Linked DNA regions of Homo sapiens: region 1 is linked to region 2. The links are contacts of gene promoters, found by promoter capture Hi-C in human tissues and cell types (Jung and others, 2019). All regions are on one chromosome and are shown on one strand. Each heading gives the region's core, a stretch centred on a gene start or on the middle of the fragment in contact. The rest is flanking DNA. Distances are from core to core; before and after follow the strand shown. Region 1 overlaps LINC00269 (long intergenic non-protein coding RNA 269). Region 2 holds the start of EFNB1 (ephrin B1).

Region 1 (4,343 bases), core at 1,145-3,644, 370 kb before region 2:
GTTGCAGAGGTTGGGGAGCTGGGCAGCCAAGGATGGCTAAAGCCTGGGTGACAGGACGTACAGGAGGTATGGGAGGGACTGGGTCGAGGCATTTGTCTGTGGTTCTATAATCAGTCCACTTTAGTTCAGTCTGAGTCCCTATCAAATGTTTAACATCAGGCACTGGACTAGCTTAGCCCTGGGATGACAGTGGTGAGTAATGCTAGGATTTACCCATCTGGGAGAAACCTTAAAGACCATTTGAGCCAAACTTCTCATGTTATAGATAAAAAAAACGAGGCCCAGAAAGGAAAAGACACTGACCCCAAGTCACACAGAAAGTCAGGGGGCAGAGCCAGGACTAGAATCAAGGGCTGTAGTGCAGAACTAACTCCACCCCAAGCAGACTTTGGGGAGCATCGGATAGAGCTTCAGATGGCCTGTTGGGTGTGTCCTACAGGAACCTGGAATTCAGTCAACATGCAGGAACTGTGGGAGGCCTCCCAAAGGTGAGGCCTTGGAACTTGGCCTGGGGACAGGGCAACCTAGGCATAGAGAACAGGCCACATGAAGTCACAGAGGTGGGGAATCTCACAAGCCAGAACCAGGAACGTGATGTGGTCTAAGAGTTGCATGGGTGCATGGATGTCTCTCCCTAGCTCATGTTCCAGTGGACACGTTCCCCAAGAGTACCTGCTGCCTCTCTTTCTCAAGAGGAAAGGAAGCTGAATTGTTGATGAGCATCCTTATCATCACAGCTAACATTTTTTGAGGGCTTACTATGTGTCAGGCTCTGTGCAAAGTGTTGTCTCATTTGATCCTCATAACAACCTTATGAGGTGGGGCTATTATTAACCGCCTTTTAAAGATGAGAATACTGAAGCACATAGAGGTCAAGTAGTTGGTTAAGTTGACACAGGGGATTTGTACAGAGGAAGTCTGATTCTAAGGTCTGTGCACTTAACCATCACACTATAATAGTGTTAATGATAACTGTAATAATAAGCTAGTGTCTGCTGAATATTTACTATGGGCCAACCACTGTTCAAAGGATTTCATAGGGAGTAGCTTGTTTGATCTTCCCAATGACTTTATGGGGTAGGTATTATTACTATTATTGTCATCTCTAATTTACAGATGAGAAAACTGAGGCAGAGAGAAGTAAAGAGCTAGTATTGCTTCTGCAAGACCTTGCCAAGTAGACAAGGGAGAAAGGATTTCCAAGGCAAAGGGAACAAAATGGAAGCATGAAAACAGCATGGCAGTGTCTGGGAGAGCCCAGCAGTCAGACTGTACTGTAGGGTGGGTAGGATGGGGAGAGACATTGGATGGTCCTGGAGATTGCCCCCCTGCCCACTGAAGGAGTGCTCTGCAATGGCCCTGACGAGAGGGAAAGAGAGGGTTCCCCTGGTTGCTCAGGATTTGAGAGCTGGGTTGGGAAGCCTGAAACATCCTAAGAACCCTCCCTGCCTCAATGGGCTAGGTGAGGCCAGGGCAGGCGTCAGTCGAGGGAACAAAAAGTACAGGACTCAAGCCACATCCCCCAAGGAAAGCAGGGACAGAGGGTGTCTCTGTGGGGTCTCTTTCCTCATCATCAGGAGCTTGGCACCCCTGGGAATTGGATAGTTCTCAGAGACCCAGGGAATGTCAGGGTCTTTAGTGTGACAATCCAGTCCCACCCTTTTATAGCAGCAATGTAAAAGCTGAGGTTGGGAATGGTGGAGGGACTCATGCGATGTCACATGGATAGGAAGTGGTGGAGCTGTGGCTCAACTCCCAGTCCTCCAGAGTTCTTTCTGCTACCCTGCATGGCCTCCTTTGGAGCAGGCCCTTGAAGTCAGAAGAGACCTGAGTATGAATGATGGTGGATTTCTTGCCTGAAACCATGGAGACCAGAGGAAGTGTCACAGTATTTTTTAAATTCCAGAAGAAAAGAACTGTCAACCCAGAGAGTTCAATATCCAGTGAAAATATCATTCAAGAAGGAAGCAGAAGTAAAGACATTCTCAGATGAAGAAAAACTAAGAGAATGTGTTTCCAGCAGATCTGCTCTAAAAGAAAAGCTAAAGAAAGTTCTTCAGTCGAGAGGGCAATGAGGGAAACTTGGGACAGGGGTAGACTTGCTTTTTTCTGTCATATTGGTCCTCAGTGCCCTCCCCCATCTTAAACCCTCTTCTATTACAGTCCCTCCCAGCCTGGGTGCCCTATCCTCTTTGCCCTCTGGCTGGGGCAGAGATCCAGGAGTCCAAGGCCTGGGTTTGTAAGCCAGGTGAAAGCTAAGGGGAATATGCACGGGACATGGATTCCTGGATTGCAAATTGTGCTTAATACCACCACCAACTAGCTGTGCAACCTCAGGCAGGTTTCTTGTCTTCTCTGAGCCTCCATCTGGCTACTGGGGATAATTACCAAGCCTTTTGTGTGGCTGGGACAAGAGAAGGGGAGGGAAGCCTGTTAGTGGTGTGTGAAAGGGCCGTCCAGATGGGAGGGATGGTTATCATCATTCCTCTGCTAGTGCCCTCCTGTCCAGCCAGCCAGGCATCTGCAGTGGGGTGGAGGATGGGGGCAGGCCACTTAGCAACTCAGCTTCCTTTTACTTCCTCCCTGGGGCCTTTGCAGTTCTGGATTCCAGGGCTTTGATGGAAGGGTAGGAGCTGCCTCTTTGCATTAGCAGCTTGGGCTGCCTGGCCTGGGCCTACCTATTTTCTTGGAATCTTTTTGGCACCAACAGCTTCTTCTTCACACATGCTATTAAAAGAGAAGGAAGTGGGCCAGAAGTGGGGTGGCTCTTCCACCAGGATAGCTGTAGGGGCACCAGCTGATCCATGGGTGCTCGGGTGGAAGGCGGGGACTTCTCCAGCAGTAGGTTCGGCCCTGAATGCAAAGCTCGAGGACAGGGAGAAAAGAGGACAGGTAGGAATAGCTGTTGCGGCTAGGTTGTAAGATAAGGACAGGAATGTAGCCAGGCTTGTACACAGAACCATGGCTGCCAGAGGAGCCCAGGGATCTGGCTTCTAGACCCATCAACCTGCTTGCCAATCTTTGGCATTCTCCTTTCCCTCCCCAAGCCTCAATTTTCCAGCTGTAATGGTGTACTTGTGTGTGTATGCATATGTGTGTGTGAGGGGAGGGCTAGGCTACTGACCTCTGAGGTCTCTTCAAGCTTGGACACACTGTGGTTCTAATGAAGTAGTTAAGGCCTGAGGCAGGTGGCTGGCGGGGGAGCTGGGGGCTCCTGAAAGCTATCTGGGGGAGCTGGTACAATGTGGTCTTTGCTAGAGTGCTTTGTTGCTGACTGAGGACTGGGGAGTTGCAGCTCTGCTCATTATCATCTACATAACCTTCAGCAAGTCACGTAATGTCTCTAATTTCCCAAGGCCAGTTTTACCCCCACCTTGGTAGGACATTGCCCTTGTGGAGAACAGAAGATCCCCTTTGCATCTGATAAGAGGGCTTGTAGCATAGCTATGAGAGGGATCTGCGCCAATAAGTCTCCAGTGTGGTTCCCACATCCAGCCTGGCCAGCCCCCTGCACGGTTGGCTCCTTGACAGGCTGCCACCAGACCTCTCAGCCTCCAGGGCTTTGAGCAGACTGGCTTGCCTCTGGCTGATTCTCCTGGGGCAATCATGGGTCTGGACTGTACCATTCCTCCAGCAGGTGCCCCCCCTACCCCCTCAGCAGATGGCAGGGGGTTTCACCTTTACCCTGAGGTCACGACATGTACTAGTTTACAGGGCTTTAAATTAGGCTGGGGCCAGGCACAAAATGATCAAGACCAGTGAGGGAGATGTCTGTGTTGGCCCCTTTCGTTGTGACCCTAAAGGACATACATGGAGGGGAAAAAGAAGTTATTTGGAGATATAGTGAGTTCAGAAAGCCCAGGGCTGGCTGGGGCATTTGGAGAAGCCAAAGAGCTTGGTCAGTTAGAAAACAATATCAGCTTGGGCATAGGCTGCAGTAGCTGGAGAGAGTTCAGGGAGGGAGGGGGGAAGGCCAGAAGCTCAAAGAGCTCCCTCCTGAAGCCCCCTGACAGACAGCCAGATACTCCTCATGAAAAGAAGCATTTCAGAAATGATTCCCAATGTCAGGGTCCACTGGGAGGGGTCAGGTGAGGAGAAGCAGTCCCGGAAGTAGTGTATGAGCTTGACTGTCCCTTGGTTCTGTAACATACTTCCCTGCCTCATTGGGTGCCTTCCCTTTCTCTGAGGTTGGTTCTCCCCCTTCCCCAACAAGACTGTGAGCCATCCCAAAGCTTTCCAGTAAATCTATTTTTGGTTTAACTTAGCTGGACTCAGATTCAACCAAAACCCCTGCTGGATATGGCCCCTGATGGCTAAAAGTCACAAACCAGTGTGCCCATCCT
Region 2 (4,016 bases), core at 375-2,874:
CTCTGTTACCGGCTCCATTGGACCCCTGACGGGCACTGGTTCGAACCCCCACTACCCAACGACCACTCTCCCACTCCGCCCCTCTCCACCCGCTGCCTTTGTGAGCCTGGGAGCAGCGCCCGCCTTTCTACCGCTCCGGCAGGGAGAAAGGAGGGGCGGGGGGCAAAAAGAGACAGCAAAGCAAAAAGCCAGGGAGGAAAACAGGGAAGAAAGAGAAATGAAAATGGGAGAAGCCCGAGTGGGGATGTTGGCGCTGCCACCCACCCCAAGCGCCGGGTCCCGCTCTGTGTTCCCTCCACAGCTACGCAAACGAGGAACCCGTGTTCTGGCCTCGTCCCTCGCCCGAGTCAAGCTCGCTCCTGGAGCGGCTCTCGGCGAAAATCACCACGTTCCCAGGGGCCCCGGAGGGAGCTGCGTTCTCGCCTCCACTCAGTTCTCCGGTGCGCTCTCGGGCGCCCGGACTCCCCAGCTCCGCCTGTGCGACCACCTCGACTTCATCCAAGACGTGCAGAGGCAGGGGGTGGGAAGCCCGGGGGGTCACAACCCAGCCAAGTGCCCCTACCCCACCCCGCCGCACCCTGCTCCATCCGCCCGCCCGCAGGAAAACACTCGAAAAAGCCGGAGACAAAATGAGGCGCCGCTCCTCCTCCGAAGACCTCCCCACATGCACTCCGGGGCGTGCGGCCTCACCCTGAAGGAGTGCCTCCCACCCCAGCGTCCAGAGGAGATAAGTTACTCACTTGGGGTTGAGGGAGCTCCAGGATACGGGCTCCAGGTTCTTGGCCAGCGGTGTGGCGAGCCGGCACAGCGCCCACACGACCATCGCCACAAGCCACTTGCCGAGCCAACGCTGCCCAGGCCGAGCCATCTTCCCGGGGGCAGACTGCACTTCGGGATCCCTTGGCGCCTCCTCACCAAAGCTCGCCTCGCCTTCCTCTGCCGCGCTGCGCTCGGAGCCGCTCAGGCGCCCATCCTCCGCAGCCGCCGGCCTTGAAGTGCTCCCCTCCCGCCGGCTTCGGTGTCGCTCTTCTCCGCCCGGCCGGCCAGGAGGACTCACTGGGCAGCCGCCCCCAACCCGGGCATGGGCTTCGGCCCCCGAGGGCTCGTTCTCCTGGGCTCTCCGCTGCCGCACGAGGCGCGACGGGGGCTCTGCGCCCCCGGGTGATCCCGCCCGATTCCGCTCGACTTCCCGAGACGCTTCGGGGCTGCGCGCCCTCTCCCCGACGGGGTCTTCCCGCAGAGGTCTCGGTGACCGCCCCGACGCCTCGACCGTCCCGGGATCGCTGTCCCTTGGAAGAAGTGGGGGTTTCCCCACAGCACAAGCTCGGTCCCCGGGCTCCCGACTGGGCCGCCCTGGCACGGGCTCCGTTCCTCCGGGCCACACTGGGACTCCGGGCTACGCGCCCCCGGACAGCTTCTACTTCAGCGCGGGCCCTGCTCAGTGTACTTAGAAGAGCGGGGAGATGCTGCCGAGCGAGCCAGTCCCATTAGTTTGCGCCCCCGAAGCCTCGGCCGGGTAGCCCGGCAGCCTCGCGTCGCCGAGTCCTGGCTCCCGGGCGATCGAGCCCGAGGGTCTGCGGCCAGTGCGAGCCTCACAAACCTCCCACTGCTGTCCAGCTCGCATAGACTCCCTCCGCTGCCGCTGTGCTGTCTACTCCCTTGCTCAGGCGAACGCAAGGCCAACCCTGCTCTCTTAGCCAATAGCAAGCTCAGTGGCGGGGTCCTTGCCCCATACCACGCCCCCAGAGCAGGAAGGGGGCGGGGTTTCAGGGAGCTCTTAAGGACGCCGCGCGCCCGATGGCACCAATCTGAGTGTGCGGCTCGTGCGGTTAGGGTTGGGTCCCTCTCAGTCCTGTTCCCAGAGAGCTCAACCCGTGGGAAGTTGGCACTCTCAAGAGCTGCCGGCCTGCTCTCCTCTCCACGCGTCTGGTCAACACCCCAGCCCACTGACCCTGTCCCAAGTACCCCAGGAAAGTATTTCCATTTTCTTTTTACACACAGGACCCCTGAAGTCCTGCTCTGTGCCCACCTCCGTGTCAAGGACAGCCTGTCTGCTCCTCGTCCAGTCCCACGTAAGGCTTTAGTGGGCTTTCCTCCTCTCGCCCTCAAAATGCACTGTCTGCTTGCACTTGGACCCGGAGTCAGGAACATAAAAGTGAGAACAGTGGGAGGGGGAAACTGGTGAGGGTCCAGTACTTGATTGGGGTTAGAGGTGGGGCGGGGAGCAGGGTGGGGTGTGGTGGGGAGAGAAGGCGTGTTCATCGCCCCTGGGGACCAGGCCTTCGGAATCTCAGCTTTCTGGGGGAGCCTTGTGGGACCTCTGGAGCCAAGATTTAGTCTTGTCCTGTCCGAAGGCGCGGGCAAGGTCCCGGGATAGGCAAGCGGGGATGAGAGGGCACGTCGATAAAGAAAGACACCTCGAGGGCAAAGAGGAAAAAGCACAGGGCATGAGACTTTTGAAAAAGCAAAAGCGGGCATCCTGGACCGGAGAAGCCGGACTCCAGCCTGTCCCGGCCTCGCCATCTGGGTCTTTGTCTCCCAGCCCTGGCCCATTCTTCCCGCCCCGCCTTGCCTCTTTGCTTATAACTTGGCTCGATCCCATAGCTCAGACCTTCCAGGTCCGACCCACTCTCGCTGGTCGGACCCCAGAGGACGTACCCACGTGCTAATGTCTCCCCCTGCTGGACTTCCATAGCACTGCGGGCGCCTGGGATAAACCCGGAGCTTGCCATAGCACAAGACCTGGGACAGGCGTAGCCTTGGCAAAAACCGTCACCCTGTATGGGGAGGAAGGGAAAGAACTAGAAGGATATCTGAGTTTGGGGTAGGCTTAGGGACTGCCAAGAATACAAGGTCTCCCCACTTTTTCTTTATGGAGATAATTAGATGAGCAACATTCCCAAAGTGCTCCACCATTCACACAGTTTCATGTCCATCATCTCGCTTAATAGGTGACTGAGCTACTGCGTTTCTCAGTGGATCCTCTGATGATCTTTGTGGCTGTAGAGGTGGGAATAGCCCAGATTTTGTCTTTTTATTTTCTCCCAAATAGAGGAGAAAATAGGGAAAATCTGGGCCCTTCCCACTTCCAGGGGCAGCCCTTGAGGGTGAAGTGGCTCTGGGTAGGTAGGGAAAGAAGGAGCTGTTTGGGGTCTCTGAGCTCTCAGCTGGACCCTGCATTGGGGTGTAAGGAAGGAGAGATGAGATGAATAGGGTGTAGGGACACACCAGTAGTCTAGCTGGGAGACTGGGATCCCTGGAGTGCATGCTAGGACATCAAAACCTGAATACAGAAAGCAGCCTGCTGCTTACTGAGTGCCTACTATTGTCAAGAACCAAGTTAGATGCTTTTCCTTTCATAACCTTTTGAAATGAGTTTCAGTATCCCCATTTTACCTACAGGGGAAAGTAAGGCTCAGAGAGAAGTGACTCATCTGAGATCACCAAGCTGATCAGTGGTGAAAGCAGGATTTGACTCCTGGGACATCTGTCTCCAAAGCCTGTGGCCATTCCCCTGTACCATACTGGCTCAAATTCCCAGCCAATCCTTGCTTCTTTGCTTCTTTGGTTCATTCCTGGTTAAGGCTGGGTCGTGCATGGACAGCAGCAGCCTGGGGCTGGCCAGGACTCTTCCCTCACTGTCCTTCAAGAGGTTGCCAGGCCTGGAAAGTTCATCTATATTCCTGGCCATAGCCCAGAGTTCTTCTCATCTAAGACCACCACTGCCAACCCTAGAGCCAGCCTTGATTCTTCCTCCCCACAGCCAGCATGCCCGGTGCCCCACAGGAGGAGAGCCCAAGGCCAGGTGGGGGATGGGGAGATGAGGCTATGCGGCCAGTCTTGGGAAACATGGGAAGACAAGCAGTTCCTGAGTGTGCCAGCACCTAATCCCGGTGGGCAGGGTGGCAGAGGAAATGAGAAGAAGACTCTTTATGTCCAGACCTGCTCCACATGCTACTTATCCCTGCTCACAGCACAGCCTTTCTGCCTCAACCTGCCCACACCAGCTACAGGGG

The links. The method cuts DNA at HindIII sites, captures the fragments that hold promoters and counts their contacts. A contact is called where the count stands out against the background at its distance.
Region 1: a contact is called between a fragment that was not itself captured here and the fragment with the promoter of EFNB1 in region 2, in 1 of the 25 tissues and cell types used here (IMR-90 fibroblasts).

Annotation. Positions count from the first base shown.
Region 1 is chrX:69,196,065-69,200,407 of GRCh38, reverse strand. The region is part of intron 1 of LINC00269 (long intergenic non-protein coding RNA 269); the gene reads right to left. Among named protein-coding and RNA genes, the nearest start is that of LINC00269, 19 kb to the right of the region's middle. The HindIII fragment of the contact is 8,137 bases long and covers 1-4,343 here.
Region 2 is chrX:68,826,629-68,830,644 of GRCh38, reverse strand. EFNB1 (ephrin B1) reads right to left here and starts at 1,624. Exons shown (of 5, transcript NM_004429.5): 1 at 741-1,624. The coding sequence starts at 868. The HindIII fragment of the contact is 29,584 bases long and covers 1-4,016 here.